Regions from separate parts of the Homo sapiens genome. Here region 1 is linked to region 2. Evidence: promoter capture Hi-C in 16 types of primary human blood cells and fetal thymus (Javierre and others, 2016). All regions are on one chromosome and are shown on one strand. The core of a region is centred on a gene start or on the middle of the fragment in contact, and the rest is flanking DNA. Distances in the headings are between cores, read along the strand shown.

Evidence for each region. The method cuts DNA at HindIII sites, captures the fragments that hold promoters and counts their contacts. A CHiCAGO score of 5 or more calls a contact.
Region 1: a fragment that was not itself captured here is called in contact with the fragment with the promoter of TSPAN2 in region 2 in 1 of 17 cell types (M0 macrophages); the score reaches 5.4 in M0 macrophages.

What each region holds. Positions count from the first base shown.
Region 1 is chr1:115,594,275-115,599,181 of GRCh38, forward strand. No RefSeq gene overlaps it. Among named protein-coding and RNA genes, the nearest start is that of VANGL1, 45 kb to the right of the region's middle. RefSeq lists an enhancer at 1,594-1,888. The HindIII fragment of the contact is 5,252 bases long and covers 111-4,907 here.
Region 2 is chr1:115,086,584-115,091,106 of GRCh38, forward strand. It overlaps TSPAN2 (tetraspanin 2), which reads right to left and starts at 2,920. Exons shown (of 8, transcript NM_005725.6): 1 at 2,781-2,920. The coding sequence starts at 2,849. The HindIII fragment of the contact is 10,227 bases long and covers 1-4,523 here.

The DNA of each region.
Region 1 (4,907 bases), core at 1,487-3,986, 510 kb after region 2:
AAGCTAAGACTCTTCTACCCAAGCACCTGCTCCATGTTGGATTCTTTGGGATCCTCTACAGCAGGGCCTTTCACGATTTGAGAATGGCCCAGTTCTCTTCTGTCTGTTGAAGCTTCTGCTACATTTTAAAGAAATGGATAAAAGCTATAACGGGATCATAAAAAGGGCAATTTATAAATTATTAATTAATGTTTTTGACAAAAAATGTATAACTGTATAATCACATTGGGAGAAAGTATAGGGCTCACATTTCAGGCTTTCTGGGCAGGGGAGACTCGGGCCCTCCTAGCCCTGCGCCTGCACACCTGGCTGTCTGATGTGGCCCTCCAGGTGGCGATGGACATGAGGGAACATGTGGTATGTCTGAGGAGAGCAGGCTGTGAATGTGAGAAGAAGGGAACTGGCTGTAGCAATACAAGGTGGGTGCCCCTGGATCTGGGTGTGAGGACTCAAGGACCCCAGTCCTTCCTTCCACAGCCTTCCCCAGCCTTGGAACCACTCCAGGCCTGTCTCCTGTTAGTTTGTAAGTGGTCGTTTCCTTGACTCTGGGAACGCAACCAAGTCCCGTTATTGCAGGATGGATTCCCACACCCTGCCCTGGGCCCCAGGAGTGCTGCTGTCCCTACCTGGACTATGGGTTGCTTTCTGGGGCCCTGAATATGGGAAGAGCAAGACTGAGGCATAGGGACCTGAGGAAAGAGAGGGTAGCCAGAATAACCATAAGGATTGTCTCAGGGCCTAGAGAATCTCTGTGTCGAGAAAAGCAGAAGTGATGCCCCTTGGGCTTTGTGTTAGGCGGATGGGTTGGGGGCAGCTGGGTGGGCTCGCCAGTCTAACCAGGCACAGAGCTGACTTGCTTCCTCTCAGACCCTGTGGCTATCTCTGGTCCAGAGAATCCAGTAGAAGCCTTTGTGCTTGTCCAGAGGCCCAGTGGCCCCCAGGTCTTCCTCTTCACTCCCCAGTCCCCCTCCATCAGCACTTCTCTGCCTAAGGAGCTCCAATAGTCTGATACCAAAGGGCCAGAAGATGCAGGTCCTCAATGCCAGGCAAGGGGTGCGACTTCTCAACAGTAGTGCTTGAAGCTCCAGCATGGATATGTGCAGATTGGTAGGAGGTCATGGAGACTCGGAGGTGCATGCAAGTCGTTGCTGTGGAAACAGCTCAAGTGTGAGGCGCTGGGGGCCAAGGGGGAAAGCAGCGGGTGGAGGAAGGGTCAGCTTCTAGTTCTGTGAGAGGCTGGGAGACTGTTTGAGCCTGGAGACAGGCGGCAGGCAGAGCCAGTGTTAGGCACCATTGCAGCACCATCAGGTCTCCTAGGACAGAAGAAGGGATTGCTTCTGTCCTCTCTGAAGATACCCTGACTGGGAACGGTGGTGGTCTGGGATGTGGGGGGACCCCTGGCCTCTTACAGCTCTGCCCCTGACTCGGTCTTGGGAAATCCACACCATTACTTCCCAAGACTGCCTGCTGGATCACTGTGGCTCAAAATGGGTGGCTTTGCAGAGAATTCTCCTTATTTACGCTCTGCCAATAACTGGAGCCTCTTCCAGGCAGACCATTGTGGGGGTGACTGATAGTGCCAGTGACTACAGTTTAGTCAGCCTGCTAGCTCTGTATTTCACTCCCCTTGAGGAGGTGCTGGCAGAAATCCCAGGAGCCCCATGAGGCTTCCTTTTCTATGCTGGCTGAGGAAGCCACAGCACTGGAAAATTACTGTAAATGTGCGTCTGGCGCCACCTAGTGATCGAGGCCCTCCTGCACCCTGTCAGACAGCTCTCTCAGGAAAGCAGTTTGCCTTCTTGCAGTGCACACTTCCTCAGGCTTTGGTGTGTGTGACGGTCACCTAGGATGCTTGTCAAAAATGAGGACTCCTGGCCGGGCGCAGTGACTCATGGCTGTAATCTCAGTACTTTGGGAGGCCGAAACAGGAGGATCGTTTGAACCCAGGAGTTCAAGACCACCCTGGGTGACATGGTGAGATCCCCCACAAAAATTCCTGGGCTCCAGACCCTGAGGTTTTAACTTAGTTTGTCTGGGGAGGAATCTAATAATGTGTTTTCCTAACTAGTATCTCAGGAATTTGTAAGGCAAGTCTCTGGACTACATTTTGAGAACCAGTCTCTTGAAGGACCATGCCTCTTAAGTGTCTGCTTTGCACAGATCATTATGTGCACTCACTGAGTTTTGAGAACTGTACTGAACACTCCTAAATCTGTATCTTTAGGCAAAGTCTCTTGAGTTTCAGCTGCTATTTTTTGACTGGTTGCTTTCTGTCTCCAGAACAGACGCACAGAATTATCATGGCCAGCTCTGAATTTTTAATCTCTTTACATCATCCCAAACCGCCAAATAACCCTTGTATTAGTCAGGGTTCTCCAGACAAACAGGATGTACATATATTTGGAAAGAGATTTATTAGAAAGAATGGGCTCATGTAATGATGGAGGCTGAGGGGTCCCAGGATCTGCAGTCAACAAGATGGAGACCCAGGAGAGCTGATGGTTGAGTTCTCATCCAAAAGCCAGAAGGCTTGAGACCCAAGAAGAACTGATATTTCAGTGCAAATATAAAGGCAGGGAAAGTTTGTGTCCTGGCTCAAGGCAGTCAGGCAGGAGGATTTCCCTCTTAAAGGAGGGGCAGACATTTTGTACTAATCAGGCCTTCAACTCATTGGATGAAGGCCACTCACAATTAGGGAGCGCAATTTGCTTTATTCAGTCTACTGATTCAAATGTTAATCTCTTCCAAAAACACCTTCACAGACAGTCCCAGAGATAATGTTTGACCAACTTGACCCCATGGCCAAGTCAAGCTGACACAAAAAATTAACCAGCACAAGTCTACTCCTTCTCAACTTGGCATGCATATGCATGTACTTGAACCATGCTAATCTCCAAACAAAGATGGTAACATGGTCATAATTTCACCTACACTGATACAACTGTCCTTTGTACAACAGAAAACACAATAAACCCTTCCACAGAGGAAGAAGCAATGTCTTTGAGCTATGTTCACTCTTCTCTGTGACATACCAAAACTTAAATACTATCATATAAAATTAGCAATACTTAAATACTATGACATAAAGTTAATACATCTTATGTTACATGATAAGGGGAAAAGAGGAGGAAAACAAAGATATTCAACACACACACACACACACACACACACACACACACGCATATGCACACGTATACATATCTTGTTACCTTCTTCCACTACCCATTACATATTTCCCTTATCTTCAGCAAGCACCTCAGCTGTTTGTGGTTCTTTACCTGGTGGGGTGATATAAACCTTTTGTCTGAAGGGTTTGAGCCATTAATAATCTTGTCTGAATTGCGTTGTTTTGCTTTTCCATTGACCTTCATCACAGAGCATGATAATACTAAGAGATATCCTAAGGGATCTACTATATTCCAGAATACTCCTCTTTACCTTCACTGTGGAGCAGTAGTCCAATTTCCCCTTGGTGTCCAGATTGATCATCCCAGCTGACACTGTAACTTCCTTCTTGGGCTGTTGACTTGGAGGAGCGCAACGTGTCTGAGTGTCATTCTTAACTTCCAGTTCAATAGAACCATTGTTGTGTCTCTTGGTGAAGCATTCCTCCCTTTGGAACAAACATCTCTTAGCCACCTGAGCATAAGGCCATAGGAACAGGAAGCAAACATTTTGCTAGTGGGTCATTAAGGGTAGTACTGAGTAGTGTCACTCCCATTTTCATCCCTTGATTCCTGAACCTATAAATCCTGGCTATGAGAAAAAGAGCACCATGTACTAGATGCTGATTCAGAGCATATATAGCTTTGTGGAAAACCTTGCCCTAACCCTGAAAGGTATTGCCACCTAGCTGGCACTGCAACTGAATCTTCAAAAGGCCATTCCACTGTTCTATCAAGCCAGCTGATTAAGGATGGTAGAAAACATGGTGAGACCATTGAGTTCCATGAGCGTGCACCCACTGCCCCACTTCTTCCTGCCTGACTGCTTTTGTACTGAAACACTGTTTTTGTTTTTTTGTTTTCTACCTTCAAACTCTAACTCAAACATTGGCTCTTCCTGGGTCTCAAGCCTGCCAGCCTTTGGACTAGAACTACACCATCAGCTCTCCTGAGTTCCAGCTTGCTCACTGCAGATCTTAGAATTTGTCAGTCTTCATAATTGCATGAGCTAATTTCCTATAATAAATAAACAAAGAAACAATCTCCCACAGAACTCTGACAAATGCAGATTTTGGTACTGACAGTAATGTTTGACCAATTGTCTGGGCAACCCATGGTGCAGTCAGGTTGACACATAAAATTAACAATCATAACTTTTTTGCTTTCATTTAGCTGTTTTAGGAACCATCATATTCCCAGTCACCAAACTAGAAAGCAGGGAATTATCCTTGAGTCTGTCTTCTTCCTTACTTCCCCATAGCTATTCAGTGATTTATGCTGATTTTGCCTCACAGAACTCTGTCTTCTCCTCTCTATCCCGCCTACTATTTGAGTTCAGGCCTTTCTCCATTATTTCATAGATATTTCGATTGCCTCCTAACTGGTTTTACTGATTCTCTCTTGCCCCTTCTTAAATCCATGCTTGATACACTAGCCAAAGGGATATATTTGTTGGTTCACTGTTTAAAACACCTCAATAGTTTCCCATCTCCTAGAGCAGGAATTGGCAACGTTTTCCTATAAAAAGGCACATGGTAAATATTTTAGGCTTTGCAAACCATATGGCTTCAGTCACAACTACTCAGTTCTACTGTTTTAGAATTAACAAAAGCAATATCCAAAATAGAAAAATTCACTGGATGGGTGTAATAGGAAAATGAGATGTCAGAAGAAAGAATGAGTAAACAAATTATCCAATCTTAAGAAAAGAGAGAGGCCAGGTACTGTGGCTCATGCCTGTAA
Region 2 (4,523 bases), core at 1,670-4,169:
TTAACACATTCAAGCACTTAAAACTGCACTGCTCCTACTTCCTTTCCTTACTGTGCTTACGGTCAACAGTGTGAAACTTGTCACTTGATTCCACACTGTCTTATTTTTGTGTTGTTCCATATCCACTGGTCTCGTTTCCTCAATGAGATGAGCAGCTTAGGGAACTGTGTTTATATTTATAAATTATTATTTGTTTAATCATTGTTTAACAGAATGGGTCTCAAATTTGAGCATGGATCAGAATTATGTGAATGGCTTGTTAAATTAGATTGCTGGATCCTACCCCCAGAGTTTCTGATTCAGCAAGTCTGGGATGAGCTGAGAATTTTGTTTGTTTGTTTGTTTGTTTTTGAGATGGAGTTTCGCTCTTGTTGCCCAGGCTGGAGTGCAATGTGGCACCATCTCAGCTCACTGCAACCTCTGCCTCCCGGGTTCAAGAGATTCTTCTGCTTCAGCCTCCCAAGTAGCTGGGATTACAGGCACCCACCACCATGCCCGGCTAATTTTTGTACTTTAGTAGAGATGAGGTTTCATCATGTTGGCCAGGCTGGTCTCGAACTCCTGACCTCAGGTGATCCGCCTGCCTTGGCCTCCTAAAGTGCTGGGATTACAGGCATGAGCCACTGTGCCCGGCCTGAGAATTTGTATTTCTGACAAATTCCCAGGATATGCTGATGCTGCTGGCCCAGGAACCACTTTTGAGAACCACTGGTTAATTGAATGTACCACAGTGCTTAAGAGAAGGTAGGCGGCCAGGCGCGGTGGCTCACGCCTGTAATCTCAGCACTTTGGGAGGCTGAGGCAGGCAGATCATGAGGTCAGAAGATGGAGACCATCCTGGCTAACACGGTAAAATCCCGTCTGTACTAAAAATACAAAAAAACTAGCCAGACGTGGCGGAGGGTGCTTGTAGTCCCAGCTATTTGGGCGGCTGAGGCAGGAGAATGGCGTGCATCTGGGAGGTGGAGCTTGCAGTGAGTGGAGATCGGGCCACTGCACTCCAGCCTGGGCTACAGAGTGAGACTCCGTCTCAAAAAAAAAAAAAAAAAAAGAGAAGGTAGGCTGAGTTTGAATACCATCCCTGCCACTCACTAGCTGTGTGATCTTAGGTGACTTAACCAATTTGAGCCTGTTTCCTCATCTGTAAAAAATGGGGATAATAATAGTATATGTATATCAGGACTCTTGTGAGGATTATGTGTAATAATGAAAGTAATATGCTTAGCACTGTCCCTGACACATTGAAAACATTCAATGAATCCTTCCAGCTATCACTGGAAAGGCTGGTACAATATCAGCCACTAAATAAGCACTGAACCCAGCTTAAGAATTCCTCCTCAGGCTTAAAACTTCATAAGGCTTTGAATTCATAAGCAGTGAGAATGAAGGTTGTCACTGTGGCGTGACATCTATAATTAACAGCTTCTGAAATTAAGCCAGATTCCTAAAAAATACAACATAAAGGGTCTTCAGAAACGCCTCTCCCTATAGTATGCTTGATGTAAATCCCCACGTGTACAAAGGCCATGTGTCTCTTTAAAGTTCAGGGGATGTCGAGGAGGTACCTCCTTCACACCTTCCACTGCTGAAGGATACTGAAGAGCTTGGAGTTGCTGAAGTCACCCAGGCATCTGGGCTAATGGATTGACAGACAAAAGAGGAGCCCATCATTCAATAATTAATTAGTTGCAATCATGGGAAGACAACGTCCCCCAGAGCAGATAGGACAGCCACCTCCTCCAACCTGGTAGTTTCAAAGCACCCAGGCCCTGGCTGCTCTCAAACCTCTTTATCCAATGTTTCCCCTCAGGGTCTAGCTGAGCAGTTACACTGGCTGACATTCTCTTAAGAAAGCCCAAGAGGAAATGTGCAGAAAAGACAATTTTCAGACCTTGTCTCACAGTCCTGCAGGCCCTGGGACAGGGTATCCAGGGATGTAGGTCTGGTCTAGCTGTATCCCTGTCTCGATAATATAGGAGACAAGGGTCAAGATCCTATCTCTCTGTGAACCATGAATCCTGGGAACGCTGTCAGTTCAATCAAACCCTGCAAAGTTGAATGAGATCATCTCTGGGAGAATTAGTATTTAGCAGAGGCTGCGGCTGGGGGTTGTGGAGAGCTGCTGCTGCCCTTTAGAAGCCCTTCCATTCCCCATCCCCTTCTCAGAAGAGAACCCACCACCTCCTCTCACCCAGGGGTACTCTTACCCTGATGCCCAGAAAAAGGACGACGCCCCCCCACCACAATTTTCACTCCTATCTCCAATTTCCTAAACAAAACCATCACAGCCAGGTACAGTGTCCACACACTCGAATGGAGCACCACCCCAGGCAGCCCCAGGGCAGGGGTTTCTCTCCCATCACCCTGGCCAGGCCCTGGTTCCAGCTGGTAGGCAGAGTGAAAAGGGGGTGTGTGCACGGGAGACTGGAGGGGAACAGGGACCCAAGTCCTCCGGAGGTGAGGAGAGGCTGGGTCCCCGCACCTGGGGTCACTAGCTGGGAGATAAAAACCAAGGCAGGTGGGGGTTCCTTCCAGGAAAGAGCCACACGGTGTCTCTCCCCTTCTCACCATTTCTCATTGATCAACCTTCTGTCTTCCCGTTCTCTCCCTTCCATCCCTCCCCTCCCTCTTTGTTTGCCTTCTCCTCGCCTCCGCGTTTGAGCACCCAGCCCTCCCCACGAGCGCGACTCGGACGCCGCAGTCAGCAGCTCGGGGACCCCGGCCCCGCGCCCGCCACCCGGCCCCCTGCCCTGACCGGCCCTCCCGGCTCCTGGTCTCACCCAGAAGAGCAGGTTGAAGCCAAGCAGCAGGTACTTGATGCACCGCAGGCCCCCGCGGAAGCGCCCCATGCTGCGGCCCGGCGGCGGGATCCCCAGTCCCCAGGCCCGCGCTACGAGCGCGGGGAGCGGCAGGCTCCGGCGGGGAGGGGGCGGAGCGGGGAGGACCGGGGCGGGGCCTCCGGGGGGCGGGGCGGGGCCCGGCGGGGAGGGGCGCGTGGACCCCAAGCGGCGTGGCTGGCGACGGGTGGGGGCGCCAGCGGGTGGAGATCGAGCAGCCCGAGGGAGCACGTTCGCTCTTCTCCCGGACCCAGGGACCACCTTCCTTCCCTCCAGTGGGCGCACCGCCGCCGGCTATCGGAGCACCTGCAGGGCGGGAGCGCCCACCGGGGACTGGGGACCCATTTAATCAGCGCCCTGTGCGGAGACCGGTTTGAGGCCCGGGCGATGCTTGAGGGATAAGCACTTGGTCTCGTGGCTATGGAAATCTAGGAAGGTGACCTCGGGTAGAAGAGCTAAGTGGGGTCGGAGGTTGCCCCGAAGCTGGCAGGACCAGTCGCGGGGCACCTGACTGAGTGTCCAGGGCTGCGGCTCCGCGGCGCGGAGCAAGCACACAAGCAGCTTCTAGGGGACCCTCCCTCCGGCCCCTCCCCCCTCCTCGGGGGACTCTTACCTTAATAGGCAAGAACTGAGAGAGGGTGCGGGAGGCGGCGCCCTGAGTCCTGTGGGCTGCCCTCAACCCAGCCGGCCAGTGGAGGGAGTCTGACTTCTCATGTCCTGCCGGGTTCCACTGATCGGAGGGCTTGGAAGGATCCCAAATTTTCGGGATCTTAATTATGATGTGGAGATGGGAGAAAGGGGAAGGGGGCGGTTTTTGTTTTGCTTTGTTTTTATTAAGTTAGGCTGTTGGCAGGAAAATCAGACTCCCACTTCCATTGACTAAGTGTCTACAATATGTGGTGTCAGACAGTATGGGGGAGACAAGAAAGCAAAATTCGGAGAGCTTATGCATAAATTCAGCAAAACTTTGAGTGCCTATTATAGGCCAGACATAGTAGCAAGCCCCAGGGACTCAACAATGAGGAGACAGCCAGGCCCAGAACCACAGTCTCTGGTGTTGGAGACAGATCTGTAAGCAAATAGGGTGAGGAGAGAAGGGCTGGGTGCTAGACAGGTGTGCCTGGCCTGACTGCCTTAACCAGAAAAGGCATTGCTAAGGAGAGGGGCCTGATCTGGTCTAGAAGACGGAGCCCAGGCGGAAAAGATCAGTCCAGGAAGACAGCATGCGCAAAAGCACAGAGCTGGAGAGAACAAGGCCTCCAAGGGAGTTCTGAGAACCGCAGTTAGCCCGAGTGAAGCCTGGTGGGGGCAGAGTGAGTCAGGAAGGCAGGAGCCAAATCACAGCTTTCAGTCGGCTGACCAATGTGCCAAACTGTCATTGGCCCCGAGTGTCCCCACGTGCAACATGGAGGTAATAGTACTCCCCTCATAGAGTTGTGAAGATAAATGAGTTAGTATTTGTGAAGTGCCTAGAACAGTGCCTGGCACAGATTAAGTACTGCATAAGGGTTAGTATTATTGTATCACACTCTTATCAGTCAACCATTCAGTTTCTACCATGTTGCCATCTTTGCCTACCTCTGTGTCTTTGGACATTTGTTTGAATATCGACTCATTTATAAAAACGAGTCAAAGACAGAAAAATGAAAGTGCTGATTCTAGTAATAAACATGTCTCCAACAATGA